Linked DNA regions of Homo sapiens: all the other regions are linked to region 3. Evidence: promoter capture Hi-C in 16 types of primary human blood cells and fetal thymus (Javierre and others, 2016). All regions are on one chromosome and are shown on one strand. Each heading gives the region's core, a stretch centred on a gene start or on the middle of the fragment in contact. The rest is flanking DNA. Distances are from core to core; before and after follow the strand shown.

Region 1 (2,835 bases), core at 85-2,584, 520 kb after region 3:
GAAGGGTGGGGAGTGTAAGGATTGGCAGCTATCTCCCCAAATTCTTGTCTAATCCCAGCCCAGCTCCAAATTCTTTTTTTTTTTTTTTTTTTTTTCAGAAGGAGTGTCGCTCTGTCACCGGGTCTGGAGTGCAGTGGTGCGATCTCGGCTCCCTGCAAGCTCCGCCTCCCGGGTTCACGCCATTCTCCTGCCTCAGCCTCCCGAGTAGCTGGGACGACAGACACCCGCCACCACGCCCGGCTAATTTTTTTGTAATTTTTTTTTTAGTAGAGACAGGGTTTCACTGTGTTAGCCAGGATGGTCTCGATCTCCTGACCTTGTGATCCACCCGCCTGGGCCTCCCAAAGTGCTGGGATTACAGGTGTGAGCCACCGCGCCCGGCCTCCAAATTCTTTAAAGTTCGGGTGGTGGATAGATTGGGGCCCTAAAACCCGTTTCTGACTACCTCCTGTGTAAGTCTTTGTGGTCTTTCACTTTTCCTTAGAAATGGGGTGCAGTCACTCTTGGTGTCTTGGAGCCTCGGCTGATACTAAAACAGAACCTGTTTTAACACACTGTTTTGCACAAACACAGAATAAAGAGGCAGACGGTATGCCTGTCAGTCTTGCAGAGGCCTCCGGGAAAGAGAAGATGGGGAACTGGATAGCATGATTTCCAGGGTTCCTTCCAACCCAGAGATTGCACGGCAGGCTGGCAGGGAATAAGAGAAAGCATTGGACCTATTCCCTGACTGTGCTATTAGAGAGACAAGACACGCACTAAGCACCCTGGTAGCAGATCATCACAAATGCTCTTGATGGTAATATAAATGCAACAACAATAAGTATGAACAGTCAAGCCTTGAACCGTTTGGAATGAGCTTTATGTCTCAGAGAATAGGGAGGAGTCAACTCACTGTTGTAGAAAGTTGCTGAGAGGAGGTAGACGTCAACTAAACTTGGTGTTCTGAGAACACGCCTTTAAACCTCCTTGGCCTCTCCTCCTGGGCACTTCGCACTTGTTTGTTCTCCCAAATGCCTCCTTGCCAGGAAATCAGTCCCAGTCCCTGTAGTTGGAGGTAAAGTTGTCATCTACTTTTTGCCATTGCACTTTATCTACACTACTTTTGTGCATCTTGTCTTATAATTGAGTGGAAGCCTCAGAAGGACAAGGGCTTCTTTCTTTACTCACAGTGATATTTCCTTTCTGGGCCCGGCACATGGGGACACACACATACACGCACACACACACAAACACGCACATGCACACACACATGCAAACACACACACATGCATATGCACACATGCCCACACGCACACACATGCACACACACGCACACACATGCACACACATGCACATGAGCACGTTGATATTATTCTTTTGTCCACGGCACTGAGTTAGCGGTTGGCTGAGTCAGGGTTGGAGCTGGGTTTCTGGGTTTCCACTGCACAGCTCTTTCTACCTCCTACCCTGGACTCTCCACTCTCTGGCTTCCCAGGTCTCTGGGCACCAGGAGGCTGGAAAGCACTTTGCTGGATATTCCAATTCTGTTGGCATTTGTGACTGAGGACATGTGCCCAAATTCATCCTGTGTGTTTCCAACTCAGAGCCTTCTGGAACAGAGGTGCTCCCCAGAGGTGGGGAAAATGCAGCCGGAGGAGATGGGTCACAGAAAGCTACACACCCGGCGCTGGTCATGCTGAGCAGAGCAGGCCCTCACGTCCCAGTGGCTCTCCCTTCTGTGTACATTTAATGAGCTTTTGGCTGCATTTCAAGGAGACCTGGCCTTGGGCACGGGGCATGGAAATGAACTTCTGAGTGAGCTCTCTAGGAGAAAAATAAAGGCCTGGCCTTGGGCCTGATTGGAGCCCCATGACTCTGCCAATGCTACGTAGAGAAAAAGGCAGTTGTGTTGAGTTACCGCATTTTAAAATAGAGGCTGTAAACCCTCTCATTTTATGGGTGGAAACCAAGGCTCAGAGAGGGGTTCTGATGCCCAGGTTTATGCATCTGGCTTAGCAGTAGATTCAGTCACCACTAGACTCTGCAGAGCCACTACAGAGGCCAGCTGGAGAGAGGTCTGAATCCCTGCCAATCTTGTTCAGTGCCACCTCAACTTTGGAGAACTCCCGGCCTTCTCTGGTGAATTATAATAGCTGCTTCTGCACATCCTGCCTCTGCATGTATCCCTCTGTGAGCCATGTGTCCCTGGAGAGCCTGCACCATGTGTTTATCATCCCTGGATTACCAAGAGAGGGCCCATTGTGGGCCCACAGGGATCCCAGGGTGGGTGGGGCACTGACTGGCACCAGGGCTGGCTTTTCCAAGGAAGTCAGGCCCAGCTCTTCCTGCCAATGCGCCTCCTTTCTCTCTCCTTTCATCTCCCGAGCCTCAGAAAGCTGAGCAGTTTCTGTTGAGGATACCATCCTGTTCATTCTAGGAGGGCAGCCTGCCAGAAGCAGCAAAATTTCTGGCCCATTTCCCAATGCAAAGGACAACTGGGAAATGGCCTAGAACAGTGCCGTCCAATAGAAATGTAATGTAAACTATACATTAATTAAACATTTTCTAGTAGCCACATTAAACAAAGAAAAAAGACACTGGTGAAATTGAGTTTAATAATATATTCTATTTAAGCTAAGATATCTAAAACGTCATTTCTGCATGTAATCAATATAAATAATTATGAATGAGATACTTTGCATTTTTTGATATTGAGTGTTCAAAATCTGGTATGTATTTTATACTTATGGCACATCTCAATCTGAACTCTAAATTTTCATAGAAAATATTTGATCTGTATTTCAATTTCATAAAATTTACAATTGAAACAGTAGAGTCATCTCTCCGCATTGT
Region 2 (2,709 bases), core at 72-2,571, 520 kb before region 3:
CACTTGGACTCCCTATACCACAGCTCAGTGCATGGCAGGATGCCCACATTGTTTACACTCCTGAGGATACCATCAGTACCTTCAGGTACAATGGTGCCCACCAGTTTAAGGCACAGCATATTGAAGGGCCTTCAAGTCAGGTCTCCTAACTCCTACCCAGCCCTGCAGTCACCTTTGATAAGTAAATATCACATCAACACGTGTAACCCAGATGGCATAGCCTAAGGAAGCTTGTCTTTCTGGAAAATGACCTAACTATACCAATCTTCATTAAAAGGTGCTGAAATGCCAACATGGAAGCAATCCCAAATGTAATAGAAAGGTCATGTTTTAATCTAAAGAACTGAACTCATTTTTCAGAACATACAGTCAACATATGCAAGCAAATCATGTTGAGCTGTGATCCAAATGGATGTTTTTCTAGTTTTAGTTTTAGTTGTTAAATGATACAAATATTTCTGCCCCTTTAGAGTGATAGCCAAACACTTAGTCATCATGTAAGTCACTGTAATACTGCATCTTGGAAAGGAGGTATCAACAGCAATGAACAACTCTGTAACATTCCAGCACCCTACTAAGGTGGGCAGAGCTCAAGTTTCCTAACACACTTTCCCAACAGCTCTCTGATCAACCCCCGCAGATTAATAAACTTCTAATGTGGGAAGAGGTTCTAGGCATGAAGGAATTGGCTTGCTTTTAGTCGGTGTGAGATCCTGGAGAATCCTAATGAAAACAGCAATAACTACATGATGAAATACCAAATATTCGTATTCAAACTGTGCTTAAATATACCCAACAGGGTATACTGCCAAATATATTTTTTTCTGTTGGGTAGTTTTATGACTTAATGAAACCAATATGTCACTAATCACCCAAGATTCATGCTTCAGATGTGAATGGCCCCTCTATTTTGTTTCAAATTGCTCATCAATCTCTACTAACCATGTCTGTGGAAATGTCACCAGGATATTTTCTGGCTCTGAATTCATGAATGTTAAAAGTACAATAATTTGCATTCATACTAACTGGCTTCAAAGTGCAAATGAGTAACCGGTTAGAGGTAAAAGAACATTGTTCTGAGAGAGATAGGAGATGGATGTTTCCATAAGGTGACCCTGAGCAGGTGACTTAACAACCAGGCTTCAGTTTCTTTATTTGTAAATGATGGGATTGGATACATTCAATGTCTCCCAAACTTCAGATTTAAGTACAACCTTCATGATTGTTGCCAAATATATGGGTTACCTCTTCTACTAATTATTCTATTAATTATTTTTAAATACGCACTTTTTAATATAAATTAATCTTAAAAGGAAATTTTATACTGATACCATAAATGGAAAATTAATGTCAGTTGACATAAATATAGATAACTAAATGAAAGCAAAAAGAATGTATTAAATTCTAACTAAATTTGATGTTGCCAGCTGAAGGGTAAGGTCCTATCCTCTGACTAAAAAAGGACCTGTTTACATGGTCCACATGGGATACAGTGGGAGTCCACAAAGTAAATAATGAGGCTTTGTGGGCCACAGAACCTCTGGTGCAAGTAGGTAACTACTCTGCCATTGTAGCGTGAAAGAAGCCATAGGCCAAATGTAAATGAATGGGTTGGCTGTGTTCCAATAAAACTTTATTTACAAAAATAAGTAATGGGCCAGATATGGTCCTCAGTCTGCAGTTTGCCAACCCCTGGATTAGACGAGTGTGAAAGATCCACTATCACTAAGCAAAGACTTAATCAGAAGAGTTGGGAGAGAATTTTAAAAGGAGTTCCTTTCCTAGCTGGAGGTCCAATGGCTTTAATGCTTTCAGTGTTCCATGTCACCCATTTGGAAAAACCTGGGTTCAATTTTCACTTTAAGATTTCATGCTAAACCTCTTCCCTTTATCTTTAGCATCTTGGATAAGGTCAAGGATTTCTTTCTTGTGTAAACCTTCAGCACATTTCTAAGTTGTCTTCCTCCTTTACCGGGATATCAACAGCGGAAGTTTCTAATTTTTCTCAGACTAACGGTTCTCAACCCTGGCTGCTTGTTAGAATTGTCTGGGGAGTTTTAGAAATATTTATACCTGATATATCCCTGTACCTCAGAGATTCTGATTTCATAGGATCAGACTGGGATCCCAAATGATTTTGAGTGCAATCCGGGTTGAAAGGCTACTAATCTATATCTTGGCAAGGTCACTTTCCTCAGAGTCCATTATTTTCTCCATTTGGTATTAAATTCTAAGAGCCCCAAACTCTATTTAGCTCAAACTGTTTCACACCCGAAGGTCTTAGGACTTCACTTTCATTTGTGATTCCTGTTATTTCTCCAACTGAGGTCTGATTGAGCCCTCCCAGACACCTTGGTTAAATTTACTGTTCCTCTTTTCATTCTCTCTGCTTCATCATTTTGGAAAGCTTGACACTATTCTCAGCTCAAGATTTCTATCCAGATAAGTTTCCTGTTCCATTCTTCTGTCCCTACTACTGCCACTGACTCTGACATTAATACAAACTGGGAGCAAGACCAGGACGCAAAGAAAAGGCATTCAGTGTATTCTGTAACATACAAAGGAAGAAGATTCTTCCTCCCATGGAAAAGAAGATAACATTTACCAAGTACCTACAATGTGTCAAGCATTGTGCTAGGTGCTGGGGATATGAGAGTGAACATGACATAACCTAGCCTCCAAAAGTCTTACAGTCTAGGGAAGGAAATA
Region 3 (2,710 bases), core at 44-2,543:
ATCCTGTGATCATAACGCCCTTGCTTTCCTTTTTCCATAATTATAGAATTTTTTTTTGTCCTTTTTTTTTTTTTTTTTGAGTTGGAGTTTCACTCTTGTTGCCCAGGCTGGAGTGCAGTGGCGTGATCTCGGCTCACTGCAACCTCTGCCTCCTGGGTTCAAGCGCTTCTTCTGCCTCAGCCTCCTAAGTAACTGGGGTTACAACAATGCTGGCTAATTTTTTGTTTTGTTTTTTTAACCATATGTTGCCTCTTTGGTGAAACGCCTGCTTATGTCTCCCACCCACTTTTCTGCTGTGCTCTTGTGCTCTTGTGAGTCTCAGCACTAATCTCTGTCAGGGGTGTGCATCTTGAATAGCTGCTTCCAGTTTGTAACTGACTTTTCACTTCCTTTAAGATGTCTTTCTTTTTTTCTTTTCTTTTCTTACTTTTTTTTTTTTTTTTTTTTTTGAGACAGATCTCATTCTGTCCCCCAGGCTGGAGTGCAGTGGCTTGATCTCAGCTCACTGCAACCTCTGCCTCCTGGATTCAAGTGATCCTCCCACCTCAGCCTCCCGAGTAGTTGGGACTACAGGCACGTGCCACCACACTCGGCTAATTTTTGTATTTTTAGTAGAGACAGGATTTTACCATGTTGGCCAGGCTGGTCTTGAACTCTTGACCTCAGGTGATCCACCTTCCTCTGCCTCCCAAGGTGCTGGGATTACAGATGTGAACCACCGCACCCAGCCAAGATGTCTTTCAATGAACCAACATTCTTAATTGTAATATAGTCAGATTAAGCAAACTTTTATGGTCACTGCTTTTTTTTTTTTAATGTGTGTATGTTTTCCTTTTAAAGAAATCTACTGAGAGTTTTAGTTTATTTTCAACATTCAAATTCTTTTCAACTATTGCAAGTCGATTTGTAAACAAATGCGTGCATGGTGGGTAGTAATCCCATTTTACATACGGGGAGTTATTTTTTCCAGTTCCTCCTTTCCCCACTGCTCTGTCATGCCCTGTGGTGTGTGAATATGTGCCTGAGCTTTCTGTTCTGTGTGTCAATTTGTCCCTCCTCCAATGACACATTGTCTTGATTACTGCAGTTTCATGACAAGTTCTGAACTCTGGTAGGGCAAGTCGTCCCTGCTTGTTTTTCTTTTTCGGATTTATCTTGGCTATTCTTGGAAAAGCACATTTAACATCATGACCCACAAGTACATAACCACACAATAATTTCCAGAACATCCTTTACCTCAGCGTGGTCTGATTATTTTTATTCTATTCCGTGTCATTTAAAAAAAATGCTAGACATCATCTACTAAATTGATTTCACACCCCGCTAATGGATGGTGAGGCACAGTTTGAAAAACTGCATTCTTTCAGGACACTGAATGGTCAGAACCCAATGTGCTTTTATTCATTCATTCAACAAATATTTGTGGCCATGTATAATGTATCAGGTGCTGTATTTACTGTACTTCATGCCAGGAAAGCAACAGAGAAGAAAACATACCCAGTCCAGTCCCTGACCTCATGTCATTTACAATCTCGGCTAATCAAGTTCACAAATAAATAATTCCAAATCATGATGGGAGTGAAGCCATAGAGGATAAGAGGGCTCGGGGTGGTGATCAGAGGTCTCTGAGGCAATGATCTGGAAGCTGCCACCTACAAGATAAAGAGTAAGCAAGATAGAGACAGCAGGAATGAGCTCTCCGACGGAGGGCATGAACAGCAAGTGCAAAGGCCCTGCGACTCGAAAGAGCATGAAAGACTGAGGAAGCGGCCAGTGTGGCTCCAACACAGTGGAGGAGTGGGGGGATCCTACTGAGATAGAGGCCCTGGTAAGGATGTAGATTTTTGTTGTTGTTGTTGTTCCTAGGAGCAGTGGCGAGTACTGAAGGATTTTAAAGTGGTTTGATCTGGTTTGTGTTTCTGTTCCTGGGAGAGAAAACCCATGGATGGCAGTGGGGGCGGGGCAGGAGGCCAATTAGAAGCCAGGATGATGTCTTGCTGTTGTTCCCCATCCTGTTCCCAATGCCCAATTTTGCCTGCCTCTTCCCCACCAGGGCTGAATAATTCTCATCCTTCAAGGCCCAACTCCAGCCAATGGCACCGACCTCCTGGACCTGCTAGGCAGAAGTGGTGGCTCCCTCTCAGCTGACCCCAGAGCACTTCCTTAGCTCCTGCTGATCTCAGAGCACACACACCAATCCACTCTGGCCACTCAGCAATTTTTCTTGATGGCCCTGGCATGGCACCTATGCTGGGGTCAGACCCTCAACCAGCCCTTCAGTGTTGAAATGCACAACCTCAGCCCTCTAGCCTCAGCGGAGGAAGCAGGGCTCTTCAGTTTGGGAGAACCATATACAACCAGAAGAAGGGGCCAAAATATCTGAAGCCCCCAGGTAGCGGGGCTAAAAGAAAGGGATAAATGGCCTCTTCTGGTTTTTTTTCTTTGTTTGTTTTTGTTTTTACTGGAAACAACTCTAAGGGGAGACTGGTCCCAGTGAAGATGATCCCCTGAAAGGCTAGTAAGCAGGTCACCTTTGAATGTCAAGGGCAAAATCACTGTTGGTGTCCTGTTCTCCCTCCAGGAGCTGGCTCCTCCACAGCTCTCAGGAATGACAGTAAACACAGACGGCCCTGCATGTATTCCGGCTGTGGCAGCCTTCCTCCTGGGCTGCACATCAGGCTAACAAGCCCAGCCCTCAGCTTCACAGGGA
Region 4 (2,700 bases), core at 135-2,634, 540 kb after region 3:
AGTGAAATTCCAAAGCTCAGTTTGCTGAAGTGTGCAAAATGCTAATCAGCTTCCACAGCCCACAAAGTGGCAGAGAGGGCGTGCCTCTCTGGAGAAGAGAGGAGAGACTGGACTAGGAGCTGGGAGGAGTCTGGCTGACTCAGCGGCCCCAGACAAACGCACTTCCATCCTTTCCCATTTCCGTTGTGAACTCTTCTCCGTGGGCAAGAAGAGGACTCAGAACAACTGCTATCTTTTTACAAAGAAGGATGATGTGCAAGGGGGTCATTTACAAGAGGATCAAGGGTTTGGCTATGTTGGGAGATGCTGATTTTGATAAATGTTTCCATATCTCTACAAATGTGCCTTTCTGAGTCTCCAGTTAGACTTGAAAAAGACTTTGGAGATTGTCCCCTGCACAGTGGCTCTGAGCCTGGACACCTAGGAGATGCTCAGTAAATATCTGTTAAATAAATGAAGGAATGGATATAGTCCAAACTACTTGGTCATGCATCCAGTTTGTGGCAGATTTGGGTCTCTAAGGCCCAGTACACTAATCACTCAGCTGGGAGTTTTTATTCTGTTCCATCTTGCTGCTAGGACAACTGTAGCCACCCAGAAGGATGTCTCAACGCTCTGGAAAGTTCTCTGGCTGAATGTTGCTATGATACAATCTTTTAACAAGCTGATTGCTCAGTAGCAAGAGCAAGTGCTATTTATGTTGGGTAAATAAGAAGAAATGCTGCCCTACTGATATTTGTTAAGTGCCCCTTTAATATTTGTGAGGAGGCGATCTTGACAAAATTTTGAGAGTGTATACACTGGCAAATTTTACCTTTTATGGACTGTAATATCCTATTGCTACTTGATTTAAAAATCTTTCCCTCTCTTCACATATATCCATATGAAAAAAAACAGCAGAGAGAGATATATGTATATTATATGGGAGATATCTATCTATCATCTATCTATCTCCCACTTATGACCTGAAAGCCCCGTCTTTGAGATGTTCTGCCTTTCCAGCCTAAATCAATGTATACCTTACATGTATTGATTTATGTCTTTGCCTGTAACTTCTGTTTTCCTAAAATGTATAAAACTAAACTGTAATTCAGTCACCTTGGGTACACTTTCTCAAGCTTTCTTGAGACTGTTTCCCAGGCCATGGTCAGAATAAACCTCCTTCAATATTTTACAGAGGTTTTTTTTTTTTTTTTTTTTTTTTTTTTTGGTTATCAGCATTCATCCACCAAGGAGGTCACCAGAAGCTTTGGTGGACAGTTTTCATCCAGGCCAAGGGAATTCTAACTCAGGCATCTTTGTCTCGCTGCCTGAGAGTGTTCTCTGGTGGAAACATCATGCTCAGCCCATGTATTGGGATTGGGGAAGAGATCTGAAGTGCCAGGGAGTTAACTCCTGGGAGAAATCTTCAAACAAAGAAAGCAGGCAATTGGTGGATAAATACCCCAGTTTCTTTACCCCTGATGAAAACTTTCTGAGGTGTATTCTATAGAGGCTTTTGGGGGATACCCAGGAAGCTTGAGCCCCAGTTGCCCACAGCTATAGTCCATTTATTAATGCACCTTTGTGTAGCTGAGGACTGGGCCACCTGCTTGTGTGGCTTATTTATGCCCTCTGACCCTGTCAGTGCCTGATTATGGATGTGCTGCCTCCATGTGGCAGTGGATTGCTGCAGGGTTGCCTTGGCTTATGACTTCTTGGGTGTGGTAGAACCCAGCTCATGATGGGAATCCAGCTCATAATGGGAATCCAGCTCACGATGGGAACCCAGCTCATAATGGCTGCATGATCATTTGATGTCCATGGTTATAGGCTCCATCTTTACTAGCATGTGAGGGACTTTTTTTGCATGGTGTGTTGTTCTTTGCTGTGAATAGCCTGGAATTGCCATAGAATAGGGGTTGCCAACCCCTGGGCCTTGGACCCGTACCAGTCTATGGCCTGTTAGGAACTGGGTTGCCCAGCAGGAGGTGAGTGGCGGGCGAGTGAGCATTACCACCTGAGCTCTGCCTCCTGTCAGATCAGTGGCAGCATTAGGCTCTCATAGGAGCATGAACCCTATTGTGAACTGCACATGTGAGGATCTAAGTGGCACACTCCTTATGAGAATCTAATGCCTGATGATCTGAGGTGGAACAGTCTCATCTCGAAACCATACCCACTCCTCCCCCATTCCCTGTCCCTGTTCATGGAAAAATTGTATTCCACAAAACTGGTCCCTGGTGCTAAAAAGGTTGGGGACCACTGCCATAGAACACTAGAGTTTTCATGCAGTAATTTTTCTTATTTGATCTTCTCATAAACGCTACACACATTTTTTTTTCTCACTCCAAATACCTCTAGAACTTTGTGTATCAGGCCCTTGGCTGACATTTTTTTTTTTTTGAGATGGAGTCTTGCTCTGTAGCCAGGCTGGAGTGCAGCAGCATGATCTCAGCTCACTGCAATCTCCACCTCCGGGGTTCAAGAGATTCTCCTGCCTCAGCCTCCTGAGTAGCTGGGACTATGGGTGCATGCCACCACGCCCAGGTAATTTTTGTATTTTTAGTAGAGATGGGGTTTCACCATGTTGGCCAGGATGGTCTCAATCTCTTGACTTCGTGATCTGCCTGCCTCTGCCTCCCAAAGTGCTGGGATTACAGGTGTCAGCCACCATGCCTGGCCCATGGCTGACATTTTAACCTTGTCACTCATTACAGT
Region 5 (2,708 bases), core at 69-2,568, 560 kb before region 3:
TATATTGTTACAATGCCTTGGAACTTGGCTAAAATGAAATTGTTTTTGTTTCCTTCTACATTACACCATTCAAACTTTACACCTTTAGCAACACGTAATCTCTTAACTGTCTAACAAGAAATACAAATTTGTCTACTAGTGTAAACTGTGATTAGGGATTAAGTTCAAGTATAGTAGGATTGTTTCGTGACCTCTATAAACAAGATGTGAGTGAGAGATAGGACACTTTCTTGGCTACAACTACAACTAATCCTGGAAAAACATAAATTGGCTATTTCTTGGCCAGGTCTACGTAAGCATTTCTTCTCTCTGAAGAACAGAAATGTTGACTTCTCTTTCTTTTAGATTTAATAAAGTCATTAATTACCACATGTTTTTAGAAATGATATAGCCTTAATGGATAATATTTTATTTCTCTTTTCTTTTTTTTAGGGATATAGAAAGCTAGCTGAACTGTGTACCTGGTAAAAGTAGGCCCAGGAAAACAAAAGTCAGAAAAAGATTAATCAAGAAGCCAGAGACATCTATTTGCCTTTGAGAAAATAAGGATTATTACAAAGAAAGCCCAAGACAAAGTCAAAGTTCAGCTTTTGAAATAGAAACTAGGATTTTTGAGTCTGAGCAAGACAGTAGGCTTAAAAGCCAGGCTTTGTTGAGAAAGGGTTTTCTGAATTCTTTTAGCTCCCATTGGCATATCTTGGGGGGAAACAGGGGAGGAAGTTGAAATCTTCAAGAGAGAGCATCTCCAGTAGAAACCATACTCCCAGTGAGATGACTATATTTAAACAGAAAGAGGCCAAATAAGAGCCTTTCAATTGATAGATTTAAGCTTCCCCGACTGCCACCACTAGCCAGTGGAATGACAGTGTAAGAATGATTAGGTCCACTTCAGGAAATAAAGCAGCCACATTTTCTTTGTGTATATGATTAGTCACATATGAACATTTTCAACCCAAAACAACTACCAGCTTTAGTCTGAAGCAAGACCTATTTTCCGCACATGGGAGATAAGGAGCAAGACTGAACTGGAGTGATAATCCCTCGCTGTCTGCCTGCTAAGATAGCATCAGTATCCACACATTAGCATCCCTGGCTGTCACACAGCAGAGCCTGTCATGAGGTGAAGGAAAGCAGGCTTTCACGGATCACTCAGAAAGAGAAATAACCAAGAGGACCAAAACTATGACTTACTGAAGAGCCTATCTCTGATGGGAACTGTGAATCTTTTAAAGAATCAAAGTTTTGGTGGGATTATTTTAGGCAGATAATTCTGACCCAGGCTACAAAGAGTATAGGGCTAAAGATTGCTTCATGGACTCCACCACTGAAGTGAATACCAAAGATTGTGATTAATTCTCAAGTGTGAAAGAGACAGAAAGCAGTTAAATATTTAGGGCTAAAGAAAAATCCCAGGGGAAAATCTCTTACTCTGTAAATAAGGGAAGAGGATGGAGAGGTTGACACTGAGATCCCCCCATAACCCTGATTCTCAGAGTCCAACAACAAAATAGTGTTTGTAACTGATTATGCCTTGCTGCCAAATATTGATTTTGTGATTCTAGAAATCTGAAATTAATCTGAGAAGGATTAATTTAACAAAAGGATACCTTATTTCAGGACTGAACTATTTCTATGTGCAAGGTGCTACATTAAGCATTTGGGGACACAGAGATGAACAAGGCATGATCTTTACCCTTAAATAATTTACAGTCTAGTAGGCTTGAGAATCCAGGTCTATAACCCAGTGGAATATAAAGTAGAAAGTAATGATTGGTACAAGATGCTAGTAGAAGGAAAGGAAGCTTCTCATTAAGGCCTCTAGAAGCAATTATGAAAGAGGTGGCTTTTATGCTGGGTTTTAACACGGGATAGATCTGAAGGGACTGGAGGAAAAGGTGTTTTGGCTTCCAGAGACTATATGGGCAATGTAAGGGAAGAAAAAGGTACACTAAAATAAAAAGAATAAAGCGACATTCTTGCTAGACTCGTGTCAATGACCAGAAAGCCCCACCTACGTGATAATTTATCCTTTTATTTTTTAGCTCTTCAGTGTTTTATGATATATTATTATATCATGATCATTGTTTTAATTCTTGTCTTTAAAATCCTGATGAACATATTTAAATATGGAGAGTGTGCTAAGTTTATAATCTGTCCTATGTTTACATAGAACGAAAAAAAATTCCAAATGTGACAAAACACCAAGTCAGGGAAAGAAATGTGGGCTGGCTTAAATATTTAAAGAGATTGAGGACCTTTAGAGTTTCTTGCTCCGTGTGTGGCCACTGGATTCAAGGGAAATCAGAAGCTTATTGTTCCATTGATAAGTAAGCCATAAAGTTAAAGATTCACCACACATTGCATGGAAAACCAATAGCTGGTACAAGCTGGTACCATATATTTATTGCTGATATGAGAAGCTAAGCACACCTGCTATTAACAGATAATGACATGGTACTGTGAGAGAATACACAAGGTAACATACCAGAGCAAATTGGTCACACCATTGCATCATGCTGATGATTGTTAATGGACTCTTCACTAAGACACTTCAGACTCCCTAAACCAGTAGTTCTCAACTGGGGGCAGTTTTGTCCCCAGGGGACATTTGGCTATGTCCAGAGACATTTTTGGTTGTTACAACTGGAGAAGGTGCTACTAGCATCTAATGGATAGGGGCCAGGGATGCTGTGCTACAGTGTATACAA

The links. The method cuts DNA at HindIII sites, captures the fragments that hold promoters and counts their contacts. A CHiCAGO score of 5 or more calls a contact.
Region 1: a contact is called between a fragment that was not itself captured here and the fragment with the promoter of FAM83A-AS1 in region 3, in 12 of 17 cell types (naive CD4 T cells, total CD4 T cells, total CD8 T cells and 9 more). The highest score is 12.9, in naive CD4 T cells.
Region 2: a fragment that was not itself captured here is called in contact with the fragment with the promoter of FAM83A-AS1 in region 3 in 1 of 17 cell types (total CD4 T cells); the score reaches 6.2 in total CD4 T cells.
Region 4: a contact is called between a fragment that was not itself captured here and the fragment with the promoter of FAM83A-AS1 in region 3, in 5 of 17 cell types (fetal thymus, naive B cells, total B cells and 2 more). The highest score is 7.3, in fetal thymus.
Region 5: a contact is called between a fragment that was not itself captured here and the fragment with the promoter of FAM83A-AS1 in region 3, in 7 of 17 cell types (total CD4 T cells, non-activated CD4 T cells, naive CD8 T cells and 4 more). The highest score is 6.8, in total CD4 T cells.

Annotation. Positions count from the first base shown.
Region 1 is chr8:122,680,291-122,683,125 of GRCh38, reverse strand. All of the region lies in intron 2 of LINC01151 (long intergenic non-protein coding RNA 1151), which reads left to right. Among named protein-coding and RNA genes, the nearest start is that of LINC01151, 12 kb to the left of the region's middle. The HindIII fragment of the contact is 4,320 bases long and covers 1-2,835 here.
Region 2 is chr8:123,723,785-123,726,493 of GRCh38, reverse strand. The region is part of intron 1 of ANXA13 (annexin A13); the gene reads left to right. All of the region lies in intron 1 of LOC105375739 (a long non-coding RNA gene), which reads right to left. Among named protein-coding and RNA genes, the nearest start is that of ANXA13, 12 kb to the left of the region's middle. The HindIII fragment of the contact is 2,177 bases long and covers 233-2,409 here.
Region 3 is chr8:123,201,326-123,204,035 of GRCh38, reverse strand. FAM83A-AS1 (FAM83A antisense RNA 1) reads left to right here and starts at 1,293. Exons shown (of 3, transcript NR_024479.1): 1 at 1,293-1,828; 2 at 2,054-2,392; 3 at 2,582-2,710. The region is part of intron 3 of FAM83A (family with sequence similarity 83 member A); the gene reads right to left. The HindIII fragment of the contact is 13,090 bases long and covers 1-2,710 here.
Region 4 is chr8:122,656,664-122,659,363 of GRCh38, reverse strand. No RefSeq gene overlaps it. Among named protein-coding and RNA genes, the nearest start is that of LINC01151, 36 kb to the left of the region's middle. The HindIII fragment of the contact is 270 bases long and covers 1,250-1,519 here.
Region 5 is chr8:123,759,238-123,761,945 of GRCh38, reverse strand. All of the region lies in intron 1 of LOC105375739 (a long non-coding RNA gene), which reads right to left. Among named protein-coding and RNA genes, the nearest start is that of FAM91A1, 7.8 kb to the left of the region's middle. The HindIII fragment of the contact is 973 bases long and covers 832-1,804 here.